Linked DNA regions of Homo sapiens: region 1 is linked to region 2. The links are contacts of gene promoters, found by promoter capture Hi-C in blood cells and fetal thymus (Javierre and others, 2016). All regions are on one chromosome and are shown on one strand. The core of a region is centred on a gene start or on the middle of the fragment in contact, and the rest is flanking DNA. Distances in the headings are between cores, read along the strand shown. Region 1 holds the start of NABP2 (nucleic acid binding protein 2). Region 2 holds the start of SMARCC2 (SWI/SNF related BAF chromatin remodeling complex subunit C2).

Evidence for each region. The method cuts DNA at HindIII sites, captures the fragments that hold promoters and counts their contacts. A CHiCAGO score of 5 or more calls a contact.
Region 1: the fragment with the promoter of NABP2 here is called in contact with the fragment with the promoter of SMARCC2 in region 2 in 2 of 17 cell types (endothelial precursors and megakaryocytes); the score reaches 14.5 in endothelial precursors.

What each region holds. Positions count from the first base shown.
Region 1 is chr12:56,222,237-56,226,056 of GRCh38, reverse strand. It overlaps NABP2 (nucleic acid binding protein 2), which reads right to left and starts at 1,715. Exons shown (of 7, transcript NM_024068.4): 1 at 1,616-1,715; 2 at 1,122-1,223; 3 at 546-684; 4 at 362-433. The coding sequence starts at 1,200. RefSeq lists a silencer at 1,627-1,866 and enhancers at 2,598-2,892, 2,309-3,242, 3,724-3,820, 3,243-3,820. The HindIII fragment of the contact is 18,635 bases long and covers 1-3,643 here.
Region 2 is chr12:56,187,829-56,191,871 of GRCh38, reverse strand. It overlaps SMARCC2 (SWI/SNF related BAF chromatin remodeling complex subunit C2), which reads left to right and starts at 2,389. Exons shown (of 29, transcript NM_001330288.2): 1 at 2,389-2,521. The coding sequence starts at 2,411. It overlaps TRS-CGA4-1 (tRNA-Ser (anticodon CGA) 4-1), which reads right to left and starts at 1,508; the gene lies at 1,427-1,508. It overlaps LOC107984468 (a long non-coding RNA gene), which reads right to left and starts at 1,180. Exons shown (of 2, transcript XR_007063330.1): 1 at 646-1,180. RefSeq lists an enhancer at 1,743-1,842 and silencers at 2,083-2,362, 2,433-2,652. The HindIII fragment of the contact is 5,408 bases long and covers 1-4,043 here.

The DNA.
Region 1 (3,820 bases), core at 466-2,965, 35 kb before region 2:
GCAGAAGCGGGAGGATCACTTCAGCCCAGGAGTTTGGGACCAGCCTGGGCAACATGGCGAAACCCCATCCCTATAAAAAATACAAAAAAATTAGCTGGGTGTGGTGAAGCACGCCTGTAGTCTCAGCTACTTGGGAGGCTGATGTGGGAGGATCACCTGACCCCGGGAGGTCAAGGCTACAGTGAGCCCAGATCATGCCACTGTACTCCAGCCTGAGCGACAGAGACTGTTTCTCAAAACAAACAAACAAACAAACAGAAAAAGTCCAGAAATGAGGCTTGGACTGCACACCCTATGCTGCCTCCTTGCAAACCCCTTTGCCCTGGTGCTTCTTCATCCCAATCCCCAAGACAGCACTTACTCTCCAATCTTCTGCAGATCACCCCCACGGCCAGTATATAGTGTCAGACAACCTTTGAAAACTGAAGCGTACCTATGGGAGGCAAAAAAAGCAAAATTCAGTACTCAGAAGTGTTATAGGGACTGTTAACCCCACTCTTGATTGTTGTTGCCTTTGGAAGGCCAGAAGTCACCAGCTGACTTACCCTTTGGTGAGCCGGATAATGTCCCCAGGCTGGATCAGATTGCCAACATCGTCCCAGACAGAGATATTGATGCTGCCTGTTTTGTCCGCCACTTTGCAGGTCCGAACCTCATGCCCGTCCTTTGTCTTGGTCACTCGGCCTGAACGGAACAGATAAATCGAGGTGGGAGGATGGTCAAATAAATGGAGTGGTATCTCTCAGAAGGATGAGATGTGGATATTGGTGGAATGAGGGAAAAGGTGTACAAACAGGGGAAAGCCCAAATCCCTGGGGCATAAAGGGTTGGGATTGTGGAAGGGGTGGTGGAGGGTGGAGGTGGGAGTTCAGGGGCCAGCACCATGGAGAGGGCCCTGAGTGGAAAGAGGCCCGCGTCGCACAGGAGGTCTAGATCTGGCAAGAGTTCTATCTACCCTATACCTGACTGCAACTTTCTGTCCCAGGGTCGAAGAGATTGGGAGTGAGGAGTGTCTTGCAGCTTGCCTTGCCATCCCCATAGCAAGTTAAGAACGCAGACAGCGTTCTTCCCCTCCTGCCCCCGACCCCCATCCCGCGAACCCGCCACCCCAGTATAGACACCTGTCTCCAGCACAATGAAGATAAGGTTCAGATTCTTGAGCCCAGGCTTGATATCCTTCACAAAGGTCTCCGTCGTCATGCTGCCTGAGCCTCGGCACCCCACTGGATGGGGAATAGAGGATGAAGGCTCAATGCTTGGATCCTTTGCCCCCATGCTCCACTTCCCAAGGCCTACCTACCCCATTAGGCTGGGGTCAGGCAGCCTCAACCCCTCTAACCCTTCTAAAAGATTAAAAAAGAACATCCCCGGAGGCCTCCAACTTCAGGATCAGAATTTGGGGGTCTCTGGACAGGCTGCTTTGGGGCTGGAAGGCCCCCTGCCGGGATGCTCTTTTAGTCTCAAGCCGCGAAGTGGCGGAGCCGACGTAGACAGGGGTAGGGAACCCGGTGCACAGCCAGGGAGTAGAATCTTACTGGCCAGATCTTCCGGAACCCTCATCCCGACAAGCCGGGACTCGGTCCATCCCCTCCCCTACCCGCAGCCCACCACCCACCCAAGCCAGCCGGCAGGACTGTGCACGCCGCTGAGCAGCCCGCAGGGGGAGCCACAGGCTCCGCTGCCGCCGGATGCTGCCCCGTGGAACGCGGGAGTGCGGACATTCCCGGAAGTTTCCCCCGGCTGGCCTCCTCCGGCCAATCAGCACCGCCCGGGCGCGCCCTGCGTCCCGCCGCCTGCCCTGCCCAGCCAATCGGGATCAGAGACTCGTGCGCCGCGAAGGGGGCGAATTTCAGGTATTAAAGGAACCTTGGAGATAGTTGGCTCTGTAGGGGGAAAAATCCACCACTAGAAGGCGCACAGGGCCCCCAGTTTTCCTTAACTTGGCTAGGGAGAATGCACTTAGGTTCTAAGACGTTTCTTTCCAAAGAGTGACACAATGGGAAAAGGAGCAAGGGCTTCGGAATCTGGCGGACAAAAGTTTGAATCCTGGCTCAATGCTTCACTTCATTTCTCGACTATTTAAACATATGTAATTCCAATTCCGCAAGGCGCGGTGGCTCACGCCTGTAATCCCAGCACGTAGGGAGGCATAGGCTGGAGGATAGCATGAGTCCAGGAGTTCCAGACCTGCCTGGGCAATATAACGAGACCCCATTCTCCACAAAAAGGGAAAAAAAGACAAAAAATATGTAATTCCATCTTACGAGAAAACGGAAGTTATATTTAAAAAAGTGCCTTGCACACAGTAGGCACACACGGTTTCCTCCCTTTTTATTGCTCTAACCGTTATCTTTGTTCCTGATTTGGGGTTCTCATCTTTAATGCACTACCCAGCTTGGTCAAGGTCTCTGGGAAAAGTGGCATTTACACCAGAGACAAAAGGCAGGCTCACCCTTCTTGGAAGAAATGGAACCTGCGACAAAGAGAGAAACATTGTTAGTCCCTTTTTTTTTTTTTTTTGAAACAGGGTCTCGCTGTGTAACCCAGGCTGGAGTGTAGTGGTGCAATCTTGGCTTACTGCAACCTCCCACCACAGCCTCCGTAGTAGCTGGTACTACAGGTTCGCACTACCACCCTCGGCTAATTTCTGTATTTTTTTTGTAGAGACAGTTTCGCCATGTTTCCCAGGCTGGTCTCGGACTCATGACCTCAAGGGATCCGCCCACCTCGTCCTCCCAAAGTGCTAGGATTACAGGCGTGAGCCGCTGCACCTGGCCATACTACTCTTCCCCGCCCCGCCCCACCGCTCCACCCCGGCAAAGGAGTCTTGCTCTGTCGCCCAGGTTGGAGTGCAGTGGCGCGATCTCGGCTCACTGCAATGCAACCTCTGCCTCCCGGGTTCAAGCGATTCTCCTGTCTCAGCCTCCCGAGTAGCTGGGATTACAGGCGCCCGCCACCACGCCCGGCTACTTTTTTTGTATTTTTAGTAGAGACGGGGTTTCACCACGTTGGCCAGCCTGGGCTCAAACTCCTGACCTCGTGATCCACCAGCCTCGGTCTCCCAAAGTGTTGGGATTAAAGGCATGAACCACCGCGCCCGGCCATACTACTCTTATCTTACTTATCTCAGAGTCCCGCTAGAAGACAGCAGAAAGGAGGCCTGAAACTTTAGTTCCTTTTGGGACCTGTCAAATTGTCCACAAAAGGTAGCTAGCTCTGTATTGTTGTGTATAAACAAATTACATAAAGATATGTGTGTATGTGTGTATTAATGTGCATTAGCATTTGCTTAGCCAATGTCCACAATAAATACCATACTATTTAATACCAGATTAGTCTAGGAAGTCATGTGATTGTAATGCCTTGGTTTGCTTAATTAATCCCTTATCTGCTCACGGAGCTCTTTAGGCTCCACATTGACTTCCCTTGGATCCCACGTTCTCTACCGCCCACATCCCCAACACCACGGTGTTGTAAGCTAAGGAAATCAAACCCCAACTCAGGAAGAGGGAAATTTTTTCTCCCTTCCTTCCTCTTAGGTGTTTCAGGGAACTCCACAAGTGTTCGGGGAGCCATCGTGGATACGGCAGGAGAGCGCCTGGGAGAGAGGCAGACAACCCGTTGAGCACCCCAGATCTAAGCTTTGCGGTCAGACTCCCTCACTCCCCACCCCGCGGCCGCCTTGTTAACTGCAATATCCATTCCCATGACAGGAGTCAAGGGGTTACGAAGCTCTGGGATGCTGACCAGGGCTCTGGAAAAGGGAGAGGGGCCGGACCCGCAGCAGGTCACGCTGCAGGCCTGCCTCTCCGCAATGATC
Region 2 (4,043 bases), core at 1,140-3,639:
GCCTGAGCAGTGGTATGAAGGTGGGAAACTCTAAGGTATAAATGTGTAGAAAGCTCTATGTATTACCCTAGAGCCCCCTGCCCTTTGGGATTCCTTTTGGACAAAAGGCTGTGCAAGAAATACAAAAAGAACATCCTTGGCCAGGCACAGTGGCTCACACCTGTAATCCCACCACTTTGGGAGGCTGAGGCAGGCGGATTGCTTGAGTCCAGGAGTTTGAGACCAGTCTGGGCAACATGGCGAAATCCCAGAACGCCGTCTCTACTAAAAATACAAAAAGTTAGCTGGGCGTGGTGGTGCATGCCTGTAGTCCCAGCTACTGAGGAGGGAGGATTGCTTGGGCCTGGGAGTTTGAGGTTGCAGTGAACTGAGATCGCACCAATGCACTCCAGCCTGGGCGACAGAGCGGGACCCTGTCACAAAAACAACCCCCCAAAACAAACAACAAAATCCTCAACAAGCAGCCTAGATCCTCCCCACAATCAGAAATTAGGGGATAGGAAAAATGGGGTGAGATGAGTATAGGAGGGTTAAAGGTTAAAGATGAGATTAATTTCCTTGCTTGGTTAATACACATAGATAATTTAAAACAGTATCTGGCACATAATAAGCACTCAATAAAAAGTGAGAATTATCTTCCCATACCTTGGCTCTAACTGGATCTGCAATGATGTTTCAATAGACTACTCCCTTCTAGCCCTGTACACCTCAAGGAAATCCAGATGAGAGAATCCTGTTTCCTGGGTCTTCGGTGTAATCAGACCTACAAGGTGTGACTTCTGGTCATGAAATTTAGAGGAAACTCTAAGTTTGACTAATATTGCAAAACAGCCACTCACATTCCCAAAATGTAACCCTTCAACCAAATCCTTCCCTATGCCCTCAAAAGAATGAGACATGTGCCAAAGCTCTCCCAGGAAGCCTGAAGTTACAAAATTCTGAAAATGCCTCACAGTCTAGCAGCCAATACAGTCGTGCATAATTAAACTTCCCAAGATCACTCCCATCCTCCCAAATCCAGGGGTTAAGACCTTTTGGCGGCTTCCCTTTTGGAGAGAGAAAGTGCACGAAAGAAACGTGTGAGAACTGGGGTTACCTTTATGTGCTGTGAAAGGGGTTAAAAAAGTCGACGCCTGTAATCCCAGCATTTTGGGAGGCCGAGGCGGGCAGATAACCTGAGGTCAGGAGTTTGAGACCAGCCTGGCCAATATGGTGAACCTGTCTCTACTAAAAATACAAAAATTAGCCAGGTATGGTGACGCATGCCTGTGGTCCCAGCTACTCGGGAAGCTAAGGCAGGAGAATTGCTTGAACCCGGGAAGCGGAGGTTGCGGTGAGCCGAGATCGCGCCACTGCACTCCAGCCTGAGCAACAGAGCGAGACTCCCTTTTAATAATAAGAAGAAGAAAGAAAAAAAAAAAAAACCCGTCACGAACAGGATTCGAACCTGTGCGGGGAAACCCCATTGGATTTCGAGTCCAACGCCTTAACCACTCGGCCACCGTGACTTCCAAAACCGCGCTTTATCGCGCGCTTACAGAAGGGGTCCGCACTGCAATCCGGGAATGCGTGCGGGAACCGGAAGCAGGGTACCGGCCCCGACACACACACACCTGAGGACTCCCCACCCCTCGGTTCCTTACCTCCTATCTACGCCACCCAAAGAAAAAGAGTCGGATGGACTGGGTGACCCAGGGAGGGAGGGTCTCCTGCCTAGCGAAGAGTCGGGGTCTCGAGTAGGAGCTCACACCTACTTAGGAGGCGACAGCGAGGCCTGCGGAGGAAGCAGTTGAGGGAAGGCACTGGGCCGCCAGGGTGGCGACTAGGGGACATTTGGGTTAACAAGTGAGGGGAGTGCTGGGTGGACAAGGCGCGAGGAGTGAGGGAGACTCTGAAAAGTTTAAATGGGGAGCTGCTGTGAATGGATGGAAGGAAGGAACTTCTTGGGGAAAGGGGTTTGGGGTTTTGGGGGACGAGGGGCTTCGTCGGGTTAGGAATGCGCAAGGTGAGGACCACTCGGGTCTACGGGTTGGGGCTGCTCCAGCGACTGGCGGCCGCCTGGAGTGGGATAGCGAGGTGACACTCCCGAGCTGAGGCAAAAAGAGGGAAAGGGCTTCGCGTCTGGTAAGAGCGATCTCAGGAGAATGGCGCCCCCTCCAGGAAGCGTCCTTCTCCCCGGAGGCTCCCGCCTCCGCTGCCGGGGAGGCCGCCAGGGTCGGCCCGCGCCTGGAGCTCCGCCGCCGCGCCCGGCCTGCCGGCAGGGGGCGCAGCGCGGACCGGGGCCGGCCCAGGCGGCGGGAGGCGGCGGCCGCGGCGGCGGGAGGCGGCGGGAGGCGGGCGGAGGAGGAGGCGGAGGAGGCGGGAGCTGAGCTGAGTGGGGCGGGCGGCGGCGGGGCCCGAGCCGGAGAAGATGGCGGTGCGGAAGAAGGACGGCGGCCCCAACGTGAAGTACTACGAGGCCGCGGACACCGTGACCCAGTTCGACAACGTGCGGCTGTGGCTCGGCAAGAACTACAAGAAGGTACGCGGGCCGGGCCGGGCCGCGCGGGGACCGGGGGCGGGACAAAGGGACCGCGGCCCTGCAGCCCCGGGATCCTGCCTACCCTCCAGGCGCCCCAGCCCCTCCCCCGCGGCCTCCCAAGCAGCCCCCCGCGCGCCCTCCTGCGCTCCCGCGCCCCTCCCCCAGCCTCCCTCTCCCCGCACCCCCAGCCTCTGAGCCCAGCCCCCGCCCCCACTGCTGCGCCCTCTGCCCCTTGTTTTTCTCTACTGCCCGGCGGGCCCCGGTGCCATTAGCCCACCTTCCCCTCAGCCATCGCCCTCCTGGCTTTTCTGGGAGAGGCGGCCGGCCGGGTGTGGACCGGGTGCCCAATGGGCTCCCCCGCAACCCGGAGCGTGCCCGCCAGAGCTCCCCACGGAGCCAGGTACCAGCGGGGCTGAGGCCTCTCCGGTGCTTTGTGTATGTTCAGAGAGAGAGAATGGAAAGCAGGAGGGTAAACAGTCACAGAGCAAGCCGTTGGCTGCTCATCAGCCTGAAAAAGGTCTCCACCCAGGGATCACCTGTCTCCGCCGCTCATCCCCCACCTTCATCTAAGGGGCAACAGAATCTCTCAGGGAGCCGGGGTATAGGAGTTCCTGGGTAGCGGCCCCTTCCGAAACCTTTCCTCGATTTTACAATGAAGTCACCTTGCAACCTAGCTTTGCAGTACCCTGGGTTTGGGGTCGAGAGGTTAGGGTGAGCTTCCTATCTCTAGCCCCTCACACCCAAACCCCATAACTGGAGATCATAAGGTGGTGAACAAAAGGTTCAAGAATCCTTACCTGTCTTTTCTACCAAACCTCTTCCTGGTGTCGTCTTTGTCTCTAGGCCTGGTTTTCTCTGGAAATGGTCTGCCTCTCTTTTTCTCACTACCCTCAGAGAGGGATTCTCTTTATGGCTTTCTTTCAGCTCCCCAGTTCTTCCTGCCGGCTTTGCAGCTCGTCAGAAGTGTGCTTAGTGGCTTAGGAGAACTTCCTACTGATGCTGGTTGTGAGCCTGGCCCTGCCCTTGGGGTCTCTCTGGGTGTGAGAATCCTGACAAATAGCTGCTATTTCTATGGCATGTCTCTACGCCTGTGAGAGGCTCTTATTCCCAGGCTTCTACCTTTGACCTTTTGCAGGGAGATCAGGCTAGGGGCTTAGCCTCCGGCCTTGGGGGAATTGACAGTTGTGACCTGGTTCAGCTTCCATGCTCTTAGCTCTTTGTCATTTACCTTTCCCTTCACAGATCTATCTCTTTTCACCTCTCACTGAGAGGCACTGTCTTCTTTGTGATGAGTGGGGAGAAAACGGGTCAAAAAGTAAAAAGAAAGTCTCCTGGCTCAGGTTCAAATTAGAATGGAAGGCTAGGATGCTACTAGGTAGCAGAGTGTGGAAACATAGAAGTAGGGCCAGGGTTACTTGTCTCAGATACAGTTTCCTCGGACAGGGTAGATGTTGTCTTGCTCTTCTCCATCAGGCTGGGTAGTGGATGGCCCTTCCTGTCTAGGAGGGCCTATGAAGACATT